Linked DNA regions of Homo sapiens: region 2 is linked to region 1. The links are contacts of gene promoters, found by promoter capture Hi-C in blood cells and fetal thymus (Javierre and others, 2016). All regions are on one chromosome and are shown on one strand. Each heading gives the region's core, a stretch centred on a gene start or on the middle of the fragment in contact. The rest is flanking DNA. Distances are from core to core; before and after follow the strand shown. Region 1 holds the start of IDNK (IDNK gluconokinase). Region 2 holds the start of LNCARSR (lncRNA regulator of Akt signaling associated with HCC and RCC).

Region 1 (4,319 bases), core at 676-3,175:
CCCTCACTCAGCCACAATGGGTTCCTTCCTGCTCCTTAAAGAAGCCAAGCCTTAGCTGGGCGCGGTGGCTCACGCCTGTAATCCCTGCACTTTGGGAGGCTGAGACGCATGGATCACCTGAGGTCAGGAGTTTGAGACCAGCCTCGCCAACATGATGAAACCCCGTCTCTACTAAAAATACAAAAAATTAGCTGTGCATGGTGGTGGGCGCCTATAATCCCAGCTACTTAGGAGCCTGAGGCAGGAGAATTGCTTGAACCCGGGAGGAGGAGGTTGCATTGAGCCAAGATTGCACCACTGCACTCCAGCCTGGGCAACAGGAGTGAAGCTCCGCCTCAAACAAAACAAAACAAAAAAAAAACAAAAGAAGCTAAGCCTCAGAACCATTGCACCTGCCATTCCCTCTGCCTGTCCTGCCCTTTCCTCAGCTATCCACATGGCAGGTTCCTCAAGTCTTGCAGGTCTTTGCTGAAACGCCACTCCCCCAGAGGAGACATCCCTGACCACTCTGCCTGGCACTCTTTGTTCCCCTTACTCCAGAGCATCTATCACCAACTCACACACTACATATATTCATTTACTCTGTCTCCCATACCAGAATGTAAATCCTTTGAGGGCAGGGATTTTATCTGTCCTGTTCGCTATATGACAATGACATAGAGTAAGGATTGAGCTCAATAATTACTGAGTACATGAATATCACAAGCTATACATCATAGGGATTAGGCCTCCCTCATCTGATTCAAGACTCAGAGGGGGTACATGAACTGCCCAGGCTCACACAGCCAGACAGCAACAGAACCAAGACCTAGGGCTCTTCACTCCTGTTACATCACACCATGGCAATGATTTTACATTCTCCAACTGATTCAAATCATATGGCAGCTAGGGATTTGGGGGCTCCATGTTTTATTTCAATTGCAGTTCAAGATTTCTTTTTATCTTTGTGGCTGAGAACCCTACAATAATTTTGGAAAGCAAAACCCATCTACCTGGAGTAAATCTTTAATATACACCTGACTACACAGGCCACAACATGGGCCGTTCCTGATTCAGAAAATTCTAGAAGGGTCCTATAGGCCCTTGAAGGTTATGATGTTTTAGCTGATCAAGTTCTGTCCTTTGCTGCCTGTGGTCGAATGGTACAGCAGCTGTCTTTTCTGATAAAGGGCACAGTTAGACTTTGGTTTAAACAGGAAGCCAAATGTTAACTCCTCAGTCTCCAGGTTAGCACACTGGGCTACCTCTGTGGTTTCCACAATTCTCTTCTTTCTTTCCAAACCCTCAGGAGCCACCCTCCATATTAACGCTGTCTCCTTCCAGGTTAAGCTGATGAAAGGAAGGGGAAAACGATTCACTTTCCAAAATTGAATCGGAGAAGTCCAGGGCCTCATAGGAGGAGGCCGCTGTGTGTCCAGATGGCCAAAGGTCTGTGAGAGCCTGGGCCGTGGTTTGCGTCCTCTCGCTAGAGGCCGTGCGCCCTCCCGCCTGGCCCCGACAAGGCGCCCCGAAACCTAGCCCCGCGCCGCTCGCTAGGCCTCCACCTGCGCGGCCCCGCAGCCGCCTGTTCAGGAGCGGCTTCCTCCCTGAGCCTGCGGTCGCCGCAGCCTCCCCGTCTTAGAGCGGGAACCCGGAGCTCGGATGCGGTCCCAGGATGGGCGCCCCGCGAGCAGGCTGGAGGGCGGGGAGAGGGCGCGGCAGCCGCGGGCCTCGGTTTCTTCATCTGCAAAGGGAAGGGTGGGGGGTCCCCAAGACCCCAGTCCACCGGCAGGGACGGCGACGCGTCCGGCCTCCGCCGCGCCCGCAACACTTGTCCCGGGCGCCCCCCGCCCTCTCCCGGACCTACTTCCCCGAGCCGCTCACGCCCATCACCAGCAGCGCGCCCGGCGCCGCCATAACCCAAGCTCGGCTCCTTCCCGTCGCCTTCCGGGCCCCGCCGGCCCCGGCCTACCCGGCGCTCGAGGGGCGGAGCCGCTCTCGCCCCGGCCGGGGCAGTGAGGGCCGTGCCCCTCTGCGCCCTCCCCGTTTTCCCGCGCCCCTTTTCCATGCTTTCCTCCTCCCTTTCCCAACCTCCCGGCCTCTCTCTCCTGCCCCTTCTTTTCCTCTCCCCTCCCCTCCCTCTTTCCTCTTCCCGGAAGTGAAGCGCGCGCCCGGCCTGGCACTCGCGTCTCCCTGGGCTGGAGGGAGCCGCCCAAAGCCCCGCCACCTGTCGTTCTACTGCCCCGGCCCCTCTTGGTTCCAGAGGATCCTCACCCTGGCAGGCCGGATCCTCATCCACCCATGGAAAGCATTCATTCATTCATTTATAAAAATGTTCTTGTAAAAAGAATAAACAGAAAATAAGACTCATAATTTCCCACACCAGGCAGCAATAAGCAGCACTTCCTAAAACGACTCCCCTTTCCCCGCGCCCCGTCGTAGATAGATGGGTATGAGTATTTTGTAAAACTGGGATCAGGCCGTACACAGCGTTTTGTAATCTGGCCTTTTGTCACAATAATAAATGGCGGCCATCTTTTGGTGTCAAACTTAGGGTTGAGTGTTGACCGTAGCAGCATATGTCTTGGCTGTATGGCTCTGCTGTTAAATCCAGCACTGGTTGGGGCTTTAAGAGGAAGGAGCACCACTTTAAAGTGTCCATTTGCTTTAAAACAATGTTAATTATGTGTCGTTTGAACTATTTGATTAAAAGCACTTCTTTTTTTTTTTGAGACGGAGTCTCGCTCTGTCGCCCAGGTGGGACTGCGGACTGCAGTGGCGCAATCTCGGCTCACTGCAAGCTCCGCTTCCCGGGTTCACGCCATTCTCCTGCCTCAGCCTCCCGAGTAGCTGGGACTACAGGCGCCCGCCACCGCGCCCGGCTAATTTTTTTTGTATTTTTAGTAGAGACGGGGTTTCACCTTGTTAGCCAGGATGGTCTCGATCTCCTGACCTCATGATCCACCCGCCTCGGCCTCCCAAAGTGATTAAAAGCACTTCTAACCGCATTTGGCATCACCTCCTTTGGTCTTTTGTTAACCAAGGTAGGTATTACTCTGTGTCCTAGAAAACAATAAAAGTGACATAAAAGCATTTATCTAATGAATAGTTCAATTACCCCTGCACTGCCTTTGTTTTTCATATACTTAGCCCGAGTAGGTGAGATTTCAATCTGGATGGGGGCTGTACAGGTGAAGAAATTGAGGCTTGGAGAGAGGTCTTACAATTCAGTTATGGTCAATACACATTTCTTGAACATCTACCATGTGCTGGTTAATATCATATTAATATTCATTTAAAAGATTACCCTCTAGGCATTCTCAAGCTTGATAAGAGGAATAGATGTGTATGCAAATACTCTTAACTCGTGCCCTGCTTCGCTAGCTCAGTATGAAAAAAAAAAGCTCATATTTCTTTCAATGTTCAAATCAGAATGATTAGCAGAAAATCTGATTCTTCTCCTTGGATTTCTTTCCCCAGACATGTCCAAGGATCTTAAACTTGCTGTGCTGCTCAGGGTGGTGGCAGGAAACAGCATGCTCAAATTGGGGCAGGTGAACAGGATTTAACAAAGGGACTATTAGCACAGGTGTGGGTAGGGTCAGAAAAAGCAACTAGGGGCAGAGTCCACATCTGAGTAACCGAGAAGTGTTTTCACTCTTAAATAGAAAGGGGCTGATGAGAGGGAGCCTTTATATGGGAAGGGAAGAGAATGGAAGGAGAGAGACAGAGAGAATAGACCATATAGAAAGAAGTGTCTGACAGGACTGTAGCCTTAGGAAGAGAGAGATAGACATTCCTTGTTGACCCAGCAGAAAAATAATCAGGAGAATAAATAACCTCCCCTCCCCTCCTCTTGCCCTGTGATCTCCTGCTCGTGGCCAAACCCCACCAGCCAAACCCAATTGGAAGGTGGAGAGCTAGGGAGTCCGGCGGTGCCCATGCATGCCAATTTCCTGGGCTCAGAGCAGGGAAGAGAAGGGTGGAGATTGTATCTGGAGGTACCAATGAAAGATACCCAGCATGCCAGTGTCAGTGAAACTCTGTGCCTGCTTCCAGGACAGCGGAACTTCAAAGGTGCCCCTAAGAGCTGAATTCCACGTTTTTTTTTTTGCTTTCCAAAGAGTGCCACCTGCTGGTCCTGGTTGTCTCGGTGCTTCCCAGCTGTTACTATGGGGCAACCCAGATGCTGAATATTGGTCTGGTTTTAGGTCCTGTCTACTGCAAGAACTGTTGTACTGAGGCACATGGTACTCTGGAAACCCCGAGTCCCTAGCGAGGCACAGCTTCTTGCATGCGTTTCTATAGTCACTCAAGTCCAGATCACCCCCAGATTCTGG
Region 2 (4,319 bases), core at 1,365-3,864, 4.1 Mb after region 1:
CTCTTTTTACTTTTTTAACTTTGTTCCTAGAAGATTTTAAATTATGAGGCTTACATATTTCCATTAGACAGCCCTGCCCTGAAACCTTCCCAAGAATCAAAAGTGAGAAGACTTTAGTGATACAATTTGCACACGAGGACAGCGAAGTTTCTAAGAACACCAGCAACAACCATGTTTTATTCTAAGGTTGGTTAGTTGCTTGCTCCCACTAGAGCTTTTCAATGGTTTGTGAAATCACCCACAGTGCCTCTGTAGGAAGTTCCATGTTCTCTATTTTAGCCAGAATGTTAGCAAGTTCCATGAGAACAGGGACCTGGTTGTGTTCACAGTTGCACTCCAAACTCCCCAAATTATGTCTGCCATCACTGTCTGGTAGTTGGTGCTCAGTAAATATTTGTTGATGGCATTAATGAATGAATACCTCATTGCATCCTTATAGGAAGTTTCCACATCATTTGGGTCATATTTATTGAAATTCTGTGCAGTTTTCTCTCAGGACAGGAAACGAGAATTCTAAGAATAGAACCCGAAGAACTATTGAAAGGGTCAGTGGACAAAGAGGAAACTTTGCTCTGTTAGGAAATATCAGATCACTTATAGCAAGGATCTTTCCCCTAATCTCTCTCGATGGTTTGTGTCAACAGGAAAGTGGCTAGAGAAGTCAAGATGTTTCTTTATTTTTTAAGTTCTGTATTAAAATATAGCCCTTGGATGTGTTTCACATTTTGGCCACGTGGCAGAGCTATGTAACTCACCTCAATGTCTCAGAAAGATGCAAATGCAGCAACTGGCGGCCCAGCCCTAGCCGTAACACAGACTGTAAGTGGGGCTCATGGCCACTTTTTCTCCTTTTCTCTGCTGTGCTTCTCTCATTGCACTTCTCGCTAACTGTTGAGCCAAGCTATGATGTTATCTGGAGGCCTGTCTTATCCCTACCACAGAGTGGGGGGTAGGTGGGGTGTTCCAGAGTTTTCATGTGGGAGGCACTTGGCAGCAACTTTCATGTTAAAAGCTAGGCCTGAAAGCTCCAATCTTGAAGTGACATATGCCAAGCATGCTTTTCACTTTGGTTAGATGTAAATCATTTATTTATTACTTCACCAAATATTTATTAAACCTACTATGTGCCAGAATATGGGGATTTCACAATAAAAGTGGCTATTATTAATATGTTGCCTCTTAGCTCCAAATTCATCCTCATTGCCTGCCTAGTGAAACTGAATCTGAGCCCTTTAAATATTTTCCAGCTGTTAAAAAAGCTAGGTCAATAGAAGGCGCTGGAGAGACATTGCAGGAGGAAAGGGTTTGGTTTCCTGGTTCCTGGCTCTGGTTGCATACTGGGCAGGTTCCTACAGCACAGGTAGCAAGCAGCAGCACCCAGCAGCCAGCAGCTTCCTCCAGAAGCCCCTTAGGTGGCTTTGGAGCAAGTGCCTCTAATGAGTCACCTCCCTCAGCAGCTTTCCTTGGAACCCCAGAGAATGGATTTCCAACGAGTTCTGGAATGTGGATTTCTAGCAAGTTCCAGAAGGCAGAATTCTAGCAGGGCTCTCCTGCTATTCAGAAAGTTACAACTGTGCCCTCTCCAGCAAAGTCTGGATCTCAGCCAGCCCTAAGAGTGTGTCTGTGTCTTGGAGGAGCTCTTTTTGAGATGCTGTATCTCAGCCCTAGGGTTAGTAAGTAGCTGTTCCTTATATCTCTATTTCTGTATTATTTAGAGCTCTCTTTACCTCTTACCAATCTCCCTTTGATCCAATTCCCTGTTATAGGTAATAATTTTTTATATTGAACTTTCCTTGTTGAAATTACTGTTTTTCTCTCTTGATCGGATCCCGATTGATACAGTAAACAACATAAGCAAAGTGTCTTTCTTGCTGGAGCTTACATTCTGATGGGGGGAGATAGACAAACAGTTGCATAATATGAAGGAGTGACAGGAGTAGTAGAACTAGTTCAGATGGGAGTTCATAGAAGCCTTCTTGGAGGAGGTGACATTTAAGCAGAAGCCTGAATGCCTAGAAAGAGTCAGCCAAAGCAAAAATCACTGAGAAGCAAATTTCAGGTGGATTCAAAAGCCTCATTTGAGGAAGTGTTGGTGAATGTGAGCATTTTTTAAAGACTGGTACATGCTAGACACAGAGTAATATAAGATTAGGTCATGGCTACATCACTGGGTTCTGGTCACATTGAACTTCTTATGCCTAATAAAAGCTTTCATTTTCTACTCTGATTATAATAGCCATTGTGGAGGGAGAAAGGCTCGTAAGCAGGGAGTGACAAGATCATTACAAATATCAACTTGGTATAAGGTGCCCACGTTCATACTTGACCTAAGATTAAGAAAGTACCCTTTGTCATATTAAAGAATTATCAATTGTTTTTAATTGGGGGCAGCTGATAAAGAGTACAGAAGCACATATGCTGCCCTTCCCACACACATCCTTTGGTACTGCCACTACCTCACCCCCACTAATGAGTGATGGGTCCATTTTAATTTGGAAAGAGGATGCCTATGCAAGTTTGAATGTCAAGCTCTGCATTGAATATATAGCTAGAACAGCAATGATCATAGAGAATCAAGGACATGCACATCCATTTCTAGATCTGCAATTGACTTGCTCAGAAACCATCCTCCCATCTATGTTAAGATAGAGAGAACTGGACAGAAAACTCATTATTGAAAAAGATTCAGGACATCAATGCTAAAGAGAGTGACAAATTTCTTAACTTGTCTGGTTAGGTAGAGGTTTGTTGCCAGCTGCCTCAATGTTTAGTGGTGAAGACTGCCAAGCTATCTTTGTGTTGGGATGTCCCTTCTTATCTTGATGGATAAAAGGAATGTAGGTACCCGTTGCCTTTTTGTGGGGAGGGAACTTGGCTTGGGAGTGCAGTGGACAAATTTGCATAGGTACTAAGGAGGCTTCTGGGACAAAATAACTGTCCTTATTGAAACGCTACATTATTTGAATGCTTTGAGATTATCCCTAATTAAGTCTGCAGGCAAGAAGGAGCACTGAAGCTTTCTCTTCCCTCCCGGAGATTATGGTGCAGACACAGTGGTGTATGTGGGAGGGGCTATCTAGAACGCAGCTGAAGTCAACAGGAGAATGGACCAGTGACCCAAATTCACTAGCTGCAATACAGAGGCAGGAAGTATGGATCTTTCTCATTCGGAAATAACTCTTTATTGAAGATACAAATCTCCTTTTGGATTAGACATCCTGGCATTAATGGGGTGCTTCGGGATAAATAGCTGAGTGTGTGAGGAAGATAAGGCTGCATAGCACTTTTATAGGCACACCTTATGTCAACAATGGAGCTGAGGGAGACCCTGACTTCTTGCTAGTCTGAACAGTTGTCTTGAATAGTTAAAAAGAGCTGTGAACTTATTTATACTCTATAACAGAGATCATATCTAAGAAATACACTACTAAAAATGACTCCCTTACTTGAGGAACGCTCACATTGTCTTTAATTTTCTAGAATCTAGAAGGGATCTTTAACAGCTGCTTCTGTTTCATTCCCCTGCCTTTAAGCAAACAAGATATTATTATCCCCACTTTAAAGATTAATCAACTGAGGCTCAGAAATAAGTCACTTGCCCAAGGTTATATGGCTTGTAAGTACTGAAGCAGAGATCAGAACTCTTGTCTCCTACCTCCTGATTTAATACCTTGCATAAACCTGAATTCCACAAATGAGTATTCAATTAAAGTATGTAATTTGAGCACTATCCAACTCACCTGCCTGGTTTACTCCTTTTCAAGCAGATGTTTTATTGCAAAAATGGGGGCAGAGGGTGAATCAGGGAGATGACTGTGTTGCAGCTGCCACTGTGCAAAGGCTGAAACTGAGAATTACCATGGCTGCAGGAAGCATGGCTCACTCCCTTCAGCCTCCGACCTCAGAGTGTCTGAAGGCTCAGTAAGGAAGTTCCAAAGAGATGCACAGTGCTGAAGCCCTAGTCCTTTTACTTTCAACTAACAGCAGGGTTCACACCTATGCAGCTGCTCTTGCCGTGCCTTTCCACAGGCTCCCACTCTTGCTAACTATCACAACAGCCTATAGGGCAGACATTACAGGAGAAAATCTGCGCATTTCCTTTCTGAAATGAGTGGTGCGGGAATGGGGTAGGTGTAGGAAAGTGTAAGTAAACATCTTACTGCTTTGTACAAGAAAATAATTCATAAGAGTCTAGTATTATTTTTATTTATTTATTTTTTGAGATGGGGTCTCACTCTGTTTGCTCAGGCTGGAGTCCAGTGGCGTGATCTCAGCTCACCGCAACCTCCACCTCCCTGGCTCAAGCGATTTTCCCATCT

The links. The method cuts DNA at HindIII sites, captures the fragments that hold promoters and counts their contacts. A CHiCAGO score of 5 or more calls a contact.
Region 2: a contact is called between a fragment that was not itself captured here and the fragment with the promoter of IDNK in region 1, in 1 of 17 cell types (fetal thymus). The highest score is 6.4, in fetal thymus.

What each region holds. Positions count from the first base shown.
Region 1 is chr9:83,620,749-83,625,067 of GRCh38, reverse strand. IDNK (IDNK gluconokinase) reads right to left here and starts at 1,925. Exons shown (of 5, transcript NM_001001551.4): 1 at 1,847-1,925. The coding sequence starts at 1,896. RefSeq lists enhancers at 1,321-1,370, 1,391-1,520 and a silencer at 1,701-2,230. The HindIII fragment of the contact is 10,566 bases long and covers 1-3,306 here.
Region 2 is chr9:79,564,982-79,569,300 of GRCh38, reverse strand. LNCARSR (lncRNA regulator of Akt signaling associated with HCC and RCC) reads left to right here and starts at 1,349. Exons shown (of 3, transcript NR_184113.1): 1 at 1,349-1,669. The HindIII fragment of the contact is 808 bases long and covers 2,211-3,018 here.